Linked DNA regions of Homo sapiens: region 2 is linked to region 1. Evidence: promoter capture Hi-C in 16 types of primary human blood cells and fetal thymus (Javierre and others, 2016). All regions are on one chromosome and are shown on one strand. Each heading gives the region's core, a stretch centred on a gene start or on the middle of the fragment in contact. The rest is flanking DNA. Distances are from core to core; before and after follow the strand shown.

Evidence for each region. The method cuts DNA at HindIII sites, captures the fragments that hold promoters and counts their contacts. A CHiCAGO score of 5 or more calls a contact.
Region 2: a fragment that was not itself captured here is called in contact with the fragment with the promoter of MAPT in region 1 in 2 of 17 cell types (endothelial precursors and megakaryocytes); the score reaches 6.7 in endothelial precursors.

Annotation. Positions count from the first base shown.
Region 1 is chr17:45,890,083-45,895,902 of GRCh38, forward strand. MAPT (microtubule associated protein tau) reads left to right here and starts at 4,472. Exons shown (of 13, transcript NM_001377265.1): 1 at 4,472-4,604. MAPT-AS1 (MAPT antisense RNA 1) reads right to left here and starts at 5,431. Exons shown (of 2, transcript NR_024559.1): 1 at 5,398-5,431. MAPT-IT1 (MAPT intronic transcript 1) reads left to right here and starts at 5,701. Exons shown (of 1, transcript NR_024560.1): 1 at 5,701-5,820. RefSeq lists enhancers at 4,415-5,300, 5,301-5,820. The HindIII fragment of the contact is 3,093 bases long and covers 3,050-5,820 here.
Region 2 is chr17:45,650,054-45,655,853 of GRCh38, forward strand. All of the region lies in intron 3 of LINC02210-CRHR1 (LINC02210-CRHR1 readthrough), which reads left to right. Among named protein-coding and RNA genes, the nearest start is that of LINC02210-CRHR1, 33 kb to the left of the region's middle. The HindIII fragment of the contact is 160 bases long and covers 3,940-4,099 here.

The sequences.
Region 1 (5,820 bases), core at 3,222-5,721:
TCTCTGCTAGTTCTCTACCTCTCTCCCCACCTCCCACATCATAGCCTATTCACATATGTCTGAATCTCATGATAGACAAGTTCAGGTTCTTTTCCCAGGTTCTTTTTACCACATCCCCCCACCCCCACATAAAAAGTATATATGGCACAGCCTAGGTTCCACCCAAATCCTTTCTCCTCTTCTTCCTGGGCCCACAACTCTCCTACATACATTGGTATACCTTGCGCTTAGGGATGGCCATGTGACTAAGTTCTAACAGTGGAACATGATCAGATGCCACTTCCAGCCTCTAAGACAGCCAGTGTGTTTCCTCCATAAGCTCCTTCTCTTCCTCCCAACTGGAGACTCTAAATGATGACCCTGCCTCAAGCAAGCAAACAACAAGTCCCTCAGGGGTGGTGTAGGCTGCAAATGGAAGGAGCTTGAGTCCCAAACCTTCCACGGAGAAGGCTGGCTACCAACCTGGATCACTCACCCAAGACTGCTCGAAGAGTTGGTTTGAACCATTGTGTTTTGGGGTCTATTTATTACAACAGTTTAGCTTGCTTTGTGAATAGATTTAGTGGCAGAGCCTCCAAATTCTATAGATACATTGATCTCAGTCCTAACCGCATCTGGAACACCATTAAATAAAGGAATTGCAAACCCAGAGAAGGTAATGAATTTGTCTAAGGTCATACAAGATGGCTAGGATCAGGACCCAACTCTCCAGTTTTCTTTCTTCTCTGCTATTCTGCCTTCTGTGATCCTACATAAGTGGGCATGATTGTATAACATATGCGGCCATGAGATTTCTCTTTCAGCAAGAGAAAGGGACAGGAAGAAAGAGAGGGAATGCATTTTCTTGGCCTGAATTAGTGTGAGCCATTAGTTACCTACATTGACTAAATTATCTGGAATGAACATTCAACTCTACATCACATATAGTTAAAATGACAGATCTGCTTAAGATTGTTTCTAGCATACGTTATTTCAATTTAGGCAAATGTGACCATTCAGTGTGAGGGGACCATACTGTCATTAGGTCCCTGTCAGTTCTCAATTATACTGTTATCTTAGAGGGGGAAAAATGTGAAATTTGAATGTAGACGAGTGTTGATTTGACTGCTACAGTTTATTTTACGTATAGAAATAAAATAATGTGTAGCAAAAGCATTATTACAAAGATGATAATGAAATAACTAGTATTTATAATAGTATAATAGTATAGTATTTATAATAGTATGATAGTTTAATGACTATTTGTCAGATGTTGTGTAAGAAACTTTATACACACACACACACACACCTCATTTAATTCCTGTATCAATCAGGATACAGGACGCTGTGGTAACAACTCCTCAAATCTCGGTGGCTTGCACAACAAATGCTTATTTCTTTTTTTTTTTTGACACCAAGTCTTGCTCTGTAACAGGCTGGAGTGCAATGGTGCAATCTCGGCTCACTGCAGCCTCTGCCTCCTGGGTTCAAGCGATTCTCCTGCCTCAGTCTCTCGAGTAGCTGGGAACACAGGCACGCGCCACCACATCTGGCTAATTTTTGTGATTTTAGTAGAGATGGGATTTCACCATGTTGCTCAGGCTGGCCTTGAACTCCTGACCTCAAGCGATCCACCCACCTCAGCCTCCCAAAGTGCTGGGATTACAGGCATGAGCCACTGCGCCCAGCCCCAAATGTTTATTTCTTGCTCATGTGACATGTACTTCCTCGAGTTTTTCCTTCCTGAGATCTAAGCTGAAGGAACAGCTCTCTGGAGCCACGCCATTCTGGTGGCGGAAAGGAAGAGTAAAAGTGGTAGAACCTTGCAATGCTCTTGAAGCGCCTATTTGGAATGTCTACATCATGTAAATGGTAATGGACAAGTATGTATAATCCCCACACCAAAAAAAGGGGACACTATTGGGGACAATAACCACATTTCAATGCTGCAAGACGGATATTGACTGCACCCCCTTCCCACTTTCAGAAAGAAGAAGAGTAATTTTGCTGAACTCCTTCTAGAGACTGGAAATGTCCCTTCCAGTTGGGGTGATTAGGGAAGGCTTTGGTAAAATTTGAGCTAGAGTTTGAAGGTTAGGTAGACTACTGGTGGGTGAAGAAAGAACAAGGACCTTTGTAGGCAAAGGAAAACCTCAGAATTACAGAGGTGGAAAAAGAGTTCTAGTCAAGCCACTTCAGCTGGCTACAGAGTAGGTGGGAAAGAAAATGGGAGGACAAGGGCTCAGATGATGGGGGGTTGGGGCATTGGGGGGACACTTGAAAGCTAAACTAAGGGGTTGAACTTAATTTAGGAGGCAGTTAGAAGCTTTTACATATTTTTGAGCAAGAGAGTGACATAATTAAAATGATCTGGGCCAGGTGTGGTGGCTCACACCTGTAATCCCAGCACTTTGGGAGGCTGAGGAGCTTGGGTCACCTGAGGTCAGGAGATCGAGACCAGCCTGGCCAACATGGTGAAATCCCGTCCTACTAAAAATACAAAAATTAGCCGGGAGTGGTGGCATATGCCTGTAATCCCAGTAGCTGGGAGGCTGAGACAGGAAAATCGCTTGAACCCGGGAAACAGGTTGCAGTGAGCCGAGATCGTGCCACTGCACTCCAGCCTGGGCAACAGAGCGAGACTCCATCTCAAAAAAACAAAACAAACACACACAAAAAACCAAAAATAAATAAATAAAATGATCACTTCTGAATACTGATCTAACTAGGGGTTGCAGGGTGGGCTGATATAGGGAGAAACTGGAGAGCAAGGAGATCACTAAGGTCCCTACATGTCCAGAACCAAGATAGAGGTCTTGAACTAGGATGGTGGCAGTTAGAACAACAACAACAAAAAGTCAATTCCAGGCTGAGTGCAGTGGCTCATGCCTGTAATCCCAACGCTTTGGGAGGCTGAGGTGGGAGTTAGAAAGCAGCCTGGGCAACACTGCAAGACCTCCTCTCTAAAAAAAAAAAAAAAAAAAAGTTAGCCAGGTGTGGTGGTGCCCACCTGTAGTCCCAGCAACTCAGAAGGCTGAGGTGGGAAGATTGCTTGAGCCCCAGGAGTTCAAGCTTGCCGTGAGCTACGATTGTGCCACTGCACTCCAGCCTGAGCAAGACCTTGTCTCCAAAAAAAGGTCAATTCCACTGACTTTTCTAAGGTGTACACCATCAAGGGGCAGCTCCATCTCCAGGCCATTGGCTCATGAGACATTCTGTAGTCAGAAGGCTAGGGCAGATTGCTTTGAGCAAGCCCCCATGGTGGTTCTCACTCCTACTTCTTTGGGTATATGCCCCTCTGTTTAAAAATAAAGTTAATATGCATTTAAAAAAAAAAAGGAGAAAAAGGTCAGTTCCAGAAACTGTGTGAATAAAGCATTTTACTTGCTTTTTCTATTAATCTATAACATATGTTGATTTTTTAAAAAGAATATAAGAGCTATGCAAATTGGAGCTTCAAGACAACTTCCCATCTCCCTAGGAGGAGATGGCTGCCCTAAACCCCCCTACATAGAAATCATCCCACTGCTTGGGCTTAAACTTGATGTTGGGGAAATGAAAAATCCAAGCTAAGGCCGAAGCCTGGGGCCTGGGCGACCAGCAGAATGAGGACCACTGGTCAGTTTCAGGCTGAGGTGCGTCTTCCAGGGGACAATCTCTAGCTGGCCCTTAAACATTCAGACTTCAAGCTCTATTTACAGCATAAAGGTGTTTCAAAAGACGTGATACAAATAACTGCAAATGCTCTGCGATGTGTTAAGCACTGTTTGAAATTCGTCTAATTTAAGATTTTTTTTTCTGACGTAACGGTTAGATTCACGTTTCTTTTTTTTTAAGTACAGTTCTACTGTATTGTAACTGAGTTAGCTTGCTTTAAGCCGATTTGTTAAGGAAAGGATTCACCTTGGTCAGTAACAAAAAAGGTGGGAAAAAAGCAAGGAGAAAGGAAGCAGCCTGGGGGAAAGAGACCTTAGCCAGGGGGGCGGTTTCGGGACTACGAAGGGTCGGGGCGGACGGACTCGAGGGCCGGCCACGTGGAAGGCCGCTCAGGACTTCTGTAGGAGAGGACACCGCCCCAGGCTGACTGAAAGTAAAGGGCAGCGGACCCAGCGGCGGAGCCACTGGCCTTGCCCCGACCCCGCATGGCCCGAAGGAGGACACCCACCCCCGCAACGACACAAAGACTCCAACTACAGGAGGTGGAGAAAGCGCGTGCGCCACGGAACGCGCGTGCGCGCTGCGGTCAGCGCCGCGGCCTGAGGCGTAGCGGGAGGGGGACCGCGAAAGGGCAGCGCCGAGAGGAACGAGCCGGGAGACGCCGGACGGCCGAGCGGCAGGGCGCTCGCGCGCGCCCACTAGTGGCCGGAGGAGAAGGCTCCCGCGGAGGCCGCGCTGCCCGCCCCCTCCCCTGGGGAGGCTCGCGTTCCCGCTGCTCGCGCCTGCGCCGCCCGCCGGCCTCAGGAACGCGCCCTCTTCGCCGGCGCGCGCCCTCGCAGTCACCGCCACCCACCAGCTCCGGCACCAACAGCAGCGCCGCTGCCACCGCCCACCTTCTGCCGCCGCCACCACAGCCACCTTCTCCTCCTCCGCTGTCCTCTCCCGTCCTCGCCTCTGTCGACTATCAGGTAAGCGCCGCGGCTCCGAAATCTGCCTCGCCGTCCGCCTCTGTGCACCCCTGCGCCGCCGCCCCTCGCCCTCCCTCTCCGCAGACTGGGGCTTCGTGCGCCGGGCATCGGTCGGGGCCACCGCAGGGCCCCTCCCTGCCTCCCCTGCTCGGGGGCTGGGGCCAGGGCGGCCTGGAAAGGGACCTGAGCAAGGGATGCACGCACGCGTGAGTGCGCGCGTGTGTGTGTGCTGGAGGGTCTTCACCACCAGATTCGCGCAGACCCCAGGTGGAGGCTGTGCCGGCAGGGTGGGGCGCGGCGGCGGTGACTTGGGGGAGGGGGCTGCCCTTCACTCTCGACTGCAGCCTTTTGCCGCAATGGGCGTGTGTGTGTGTGTGTGTGTGTGTGTGTGTGTGTGTGTGTGTGGAGGGGTCCGATAACGACCCCCGAAACCGAATCTGAAATCCGCTGTCCCTGCCGCTGTTCGCCATCAGCTCTAAGAAAGACGTGGATCGGGTTCTAGAAAAGATGACTCCCTGCACGCCCCTCCCTGCACCTCCCGAGCAGTGATTCCGACAGGGCCTTCACTGCCCCTGATTTTAGGCGGGGGCCGGCCCCCTCCCCTTTTCCTCCTTCAGAAACCCGTAGGGGACATTTGGGGGCTGGGAGAAATCGAGGAGATGGGGAGGGGTCCACGCGCTGTCACTTTAGTTGCCCTTCCCCCTGCGCACGCCTGGCACAGAGACGCGAGCAGCGCCGTGCCTGAGAACAGTGCGCGGATCCCACTGTGCACGCTCGCAAAGGCAGGGTTCACCTGGCCTGGCGATGTGGACGGACTCGGCGGCCGCTGGTCCCCGTTCGCGGGCACGCACAGCCGCAGCCACGCACGGATGGGCGCGGGGCTGCAGGTGCATCTCGGGGCGGATTTCTTTCTCAGCGCTCGGAGCGCAGGGCGCCCGGCGTGTGCGCTCCCTGCCGGAGGCGCGGGGCTGGCGCGCAGGGCTCGCCCCTCACTGCGGCAGTGGGTGTGGACCCTGGTGGGCGAGGAAGGGGGAGGATAGGCTGTGCCTCCTCCCACTCCCGCCCCCAGCCCCCCTTTTTTTCCCCCTCGGAACGCGAGGTGCCATCTTTTTTCGGCGTGTCACGTCTTTACGGTGCCATGCCAAACCGGGTGGCCGGGCTTCATAGGACAGGGCGGGGCCTGGCATTAAAGGGAGGGGGACAATCAGCGCTGAAA
Region 2 (5,800 bases), core at 2,770-5,269, 240 kb before region 1:
CTTGTCCCATGGGGCTACTATCTCCTCTGGATCCTATGAAGACTGCTCCCTGCCACGGCCATGATTACGTGTCACACTGCATGGTTAGAAGGGCAGGTTCTGAGGCCAGGCTGCCTGGGTTCATGCATTAGCTGTGTGGCCTTGGGCAAGTTACTTAGCCACATTTTGCCTCAGTTTTCTGGACTACAAAATGGAGTTGTGAGAGTTCACCAAGTTCATGCTTATAAGGAGATGGCAGCAGTGCCTGGCATTTAAAAAGTGCCCCACAGGTGTTATCTGGGGCTGTTGTCATCTCTGTGGCCAATTGTGCATCGGTTCCAGGTCTTGGGGTCATGTCTGTGTGCTTGGTGCCCTAGGTGCCCCAATATCTAGTCTCTTTTTCTCCCATTAAAAAATCAATCTCACTTCTCTGTCTCCCTATCTTTCTCCCTTTCATCTTCCCTTTCTTAGCACATTATTTATTCAACAAACACGGATGAAGTGCCTGCCCTGTGCCAGGCGCTGGGGAGGGGGAGGATGGGGGGCTACAGAGATGGAATAAACAGTGAGCCCTGCACAGGACCCTCCGAGTGCCCACAGCTAGGCAGAACAGCAGTTAGTCCATGCTGATGCAGGATTCATCATCGTCACGGGGGAGCCAGAATCTGGAGACACCCAGGCCCTGAAGACGGAGCCTGCCCAGCCCCCACCGAAAAGAGAGCTGCTATTGGCCTCAGCGTCCAGGAAGAGCCGGGTGATTCAGCGGGATGGAGATCCTCCTTCCCAAGACAAGATGGGGGCAGCAGAGGTGAGATTCTGGCTGGGAGTGAATGGGTCTGCTGGCTGACAGCTTGGCTGTCACATTCGAAAGCTTATCCGTGGACAGTGCCCCTCTGCCCTGCTAATGACAGGGATGTCACTCACAGGTCTCCCCTGGATTGTGCAGAACCAGACATTGCTGCCTTTGCCTAGGCAGGGTAATAGATATCATGAGGGCTTGGGAAGCTTCGGGGGGAAAGTTAGGCTATCTGCCCACCCCTCAATCATGCCACGCATCCCCAGAGTCACACAGAAATGTTCTTACACACCTCTGTGCCTTGGCATGGCTGCTCCCTCTGCCCAGCCTGCCCTCCCCTGGATCGGGCCTTCTCCATCTGAGCGTCCCACATGTCCCCAAGCCTCAGTCCCCAGGAAGCTCTGGGAGCCTGCAGTGCTCCAGGATCACGGGAGTCCCTACCTCCCACCAGTGGCCCTGATGCCTTGGACATGCTTTTACTACCACACTGTCACACTGGGTGGTCATTATTTGTTTAGGTGTCTGTTCTCCTTACCCTAGACCTTGAGTTCTTGAGGCCAAGAACAGCCAAGTCTCAGCTTTCTCTGCAGGACCGAGCACATAGTGGCACTCCGCAAATGCGTGCTGAGGAATGGATTGTCATTACTGATGTCATCATCCACCCCTGCACAAGTCTTGACACGGAGCAGCCTCCCACCCCTGCTGGAAGCCTGGCTTAAAGTGACCAACCTGCTTTAGTGAAGGGTTGGGGTTTGGAAGGCCCGCTGGATACAAGGATCTAGAATGAGGAGGTCTTTTCCTATTGAGGACCAAAGCTCTCAACTCTTTTTTCCTAATAAACTAGGAGAGACCAGTTTGGAATTGTCTCTAAATGTACAGGATGAGTTTGAGTTTAGGGGTAGCGGAGCCTCTTGTTCCCAACTGAAGGCACTCACGAAACCTGAACTGCACCCACTTGGAGGAAAGTGAGACGGGGCTTCCCAGTGAGAACCCAGGGAGATGCGTCAAAGGCTACAGAGGGAACAAACAAACAAGCAATTTAGTTTAGATTTTTTAATGCAGAAATGAAGTGTTCCGCTTGTTTGCTTTTAAAATGGAGAACAGAGAACATAAAATGACTTCACAAATGAAGGAAGTAATTAGAAAAAATTCCTCCAGTTCTATGTGATGGCCAGTAAAGGAAGAGAGAGCACAGAAAAGATAGAACGGGAAGGGCAGATGGGAAGGAAGGAGAGTACGACACAGAGATGATGACGCAAAGAGAGAGAGTGAAGAAGAGATGAACATGGAACCATCCCTCCACACACACACATTTTGATCTTATGGAAAACCTGCTTTGTAAAATTAAAGTTTGTCTTTTGTTGTTTTTACACTGTAAGAGAGCGATTTGAATACATTTATTGTTTTCTGACTTCTAGAATAAGAAGTTGCCAGGGAGAAGTCCAATGCCATTCTTAGTCTTGATCTTTTTTTATAATCTTTTATTTTGCTCTGTGGAAAATTTTAAGTGTTTTTTTTTTTTTGAGATGGAGTCTCACTCTGTCACCCAGGCTGGAGTCCAGTGGTGCGATCTCTGCTGACTGCAACTTCCGCCTCTCAGGTTCAAGCAATTCTTGTGCCTCAGCCTCCCAAGTAGCTGGGATTACAGGCATGTGCCACCACGGCCAGCTAATTTTTGTATTTTTAACAGAGATGGGGTTTCACCATGTTGGCCAGGCTGGTTTTGAACTCCTGACCTCAAGTGTTCCGCTTGCCTTGGCCTCCCAAACTGCTAGGATTACAGGCGTAAGCCACTATGCCTGGCCTAAATTTTAAGATTTTACCTTCATATACATCACTATGAAATTAGCGTGGGCCTTTTTTCATTCATTGTATTGGGTGCACAATGGGCTCGTAAACTCTGCAGATGCAGGTCATTCAGTCCTAGGAAGTGATTTTGTATTATTTCTTTGATAATGGACTCTCCTCCATTTCTTCTACTCCCTATTCCTTTTGCTGGGCCTCCTAGATGGATCTTCTGCTTTTCTATTTTCTCTCTGATTTTCCATACCTTTATTTTTTTTCCTCTTCCAGGTAGATTTCCTTGACCTTATCTTCCAAATCTTCTACTGACTATTTTATTTATGGGATCAAATTTTCAGTACTTTGCACTGTTTTTCTGATTATTCTTTTTTTTAAAAAAAGTTTTATTGGAGGTACACTTTACATACTCTAAAATTCACTCATTTTAAGTGTCTAATTCAATGATTTTTAGTAAATTTACAGAGGTCTGTAACCATCACCACAATCCAGTTTAAATTATTCTTTTGTGTATAGTTGTTTGTTTTGGTATCATGGGTGAAATGTCTCCTCTTATCTTTGTGTGTGTGTGTGTGTGTGTGTGTGTATGTGTATGTGTGAGACGGAGTCTCACTCTGTTGCCCAGGCTGGAGTGCAGTGGCGCAACCTTGGCTCACTGCAACCTCCACCTCCCAGGTTCAAGCACTTCTCCTGCCTCAGCCTCCCAAGTAGCTAGGATTACAGGTGCCCGTGGCTACGCTCGACTAATTTTTTGTATTAGTAGAGATGAGGTTTCACCATGTTGGCCAGGCTGGTCTCGAACTCCTGACCTCAAGTGATCCACCCACCTCAGCCTCCCAAAGTGCTGGTATTATAGGCATGAGCCACTGTGCCCGGCCATCCTCCACCTGTTACAATGCAGCCAAAAGGCCCTCACTAAATGCTGTCCCCTAATTTCAGACTTCCCAGCCTCTGGAACTGTGAACCAAATAAACTTCTATTGTTTATAAATTACCCAACCCCTGGCATTCTGTTATAACAGCAAAAAATGGACCAAGACAAGGTGATATCTATCCTTGCAGATCCCTAAAAAAAGAGTTCCTGGGAGTTGATGGATCTTTAATACCTGCTTGAGGGACAAACCAGATACTCTTTTGAGAGCCCATCTAATTCTGGGATTCTACCCTCAAGTGGGTCGAGGGGCTCAGAGTTTGCAAAGCTAGAGAGCATCAGGACCAGGGACAGATCCAGGTTTTGTGAAACCTGAAGCTTATACAATTTTCGGTGCTTTGTATAAGAAAAATAATGCAAAATTATGGATGTCAAATTAGATACGGGGCCTAGGAAGGGGCTCGTAAACTCTGCAGTAGTGGGCCTTAAGCATAAGCTTATTAGCCTCCCAATAAAGCCTCCTCTGTCTAGGACAGAACCATATTCCTTTGGAGCCAGTAGATGTCAATGTGTTTTCCCCCAACAGACTTGGTCTTCCAGATTCTACATCTCCCTCATGATTTCCCCCACCCCCCAAATTTCTAACTCAGCAAAAGCTTATTGAATGCCCACTGTGTGCAAGGCATTGGGTTGGGCCACTTCATTACTTGCCTCTGTGGCAGGACTGAGATTATCACCCACCCAGGGAGAAGCACATCTGACTCAAGATGCCCCTGAGTCTGTGCAGGTACCATCAAGGCAGAGGAAGAGTAGGATGGGCACAGAAAACCAGATGGGAAGCAGGGCCACATCTGATCTAAGGACACAGGTGGTCTCCTGAGGACATCAGGCCCCTGTGCTCAGAGGAGAAATCCATGCTGCCCTCTGTCTCACTTCTAAAAGGAATTGTTGCCGCAGAAACTGCACAGAGACGTCAGAAACCTGAGTTGGAGTGGAAGGCTCAGCTGTCTTCCTGCTGCCCCTTTGTCAGACACATCACCCCTCTTGTGGGACTGGAGTCAAATGTCATCACTCAGAGTCAGCAGCCCTGCACTTGGTCTGGAGCCCCGCTGCCAGCCCTGTCCCCACAGTTGTCCCCGGCCCTGTCTGGGCCTTTTTGAGCTGATTGAACTACAGCATCTAGAAAACTCCAGGCCAATTCTAGGTTCTGTCTACAATCTCTGAGTGTTTTCTTTTCTCTTGGAATGTTTAACCAGCAGAAAAGCACACGCCAGCAGTGGTTTCTGAGGCCCTCTTCACCTTGCCAGATGACCAGGCCTTGCCAGGGACCCACTGGGTCTCTGTCATCTCCCCGAGCCTTTTTCCTCATCTGTAAAACTGAGACGAGAACCCCTATGAAGGGCTAGTTTTATGACTGTGGTCAAGGTCAACCTGGGTCTGGGTGTGGGAAGGGGTTACTGATATCTCACAGTCTATCTTCTGGTCTAGCTGCACAGGTGATAGCCACAGGTCCCCACCAGTTAGATGTAGTGTTGGAGATAATCAGGCAGGTCAGGGCCCTCGGATGCCCCAAATTTGCTTTATGGTTTATGACATTCTCCCTTGGTTTGTACTGACAATGCTGGCTGGGAAGGAATAAAAACAGCCAAACTTCTTAAGGTGATTTGCCAGAGAATTTTTATTTGGATACACACTGTACTGAACACAGACCTGAAAATGCATTTTAAAAGGCTTTCTAATGAAGCGAATACAAAACAACTCACACATTAGACAAACCTCTGTGGTATAGCCATACTGGGGAGAGCAGAGGCTTTCTCAGAGAAGGTGGGCCAAGGAAGAGGTGGGGGAGATGTGAGGATGGCCCAAGAAGGTTTAGGGAGGGATGGTTTGGGCTCCCCTCTGAAGTTCACTGTGACCCCTATGTCCACCCAGAGAGCTCAGTGCCCTATCTCTGTTATTTATACTAGTTGCTTCCCAAGCTTCCTGGGCTTTTCTCTAATTTGGGGTGCAATTTAGAGGCCCCACTGATGAACTTTAAAATCCATTGATATTGGGCCAGGTGTGGTAGCTCACACCTGTAACCTCAGCACTTTGGCAGGCAAAGGTGGGAGGATTGCTTGAGGCTAAGAGTTCAAGACCAGCCTGGGCAACATAGTGAGACCCCCATCTCTACAAAAATTTTTAAAATAAATTAGCCAGGCATAGTGGCCTGAGCCTGTAGTCCCAGCTACTTGAGAGGCTGAGGCAGGAGGATCGATTGAGCCCAGGAATTTGAGGCTACAGTGAGCCAAGATTATGCTACTGCACTCCAGCCTGGGCAACAGAGGGAGAACCTGTCTCAAGAAAAGAAAATCC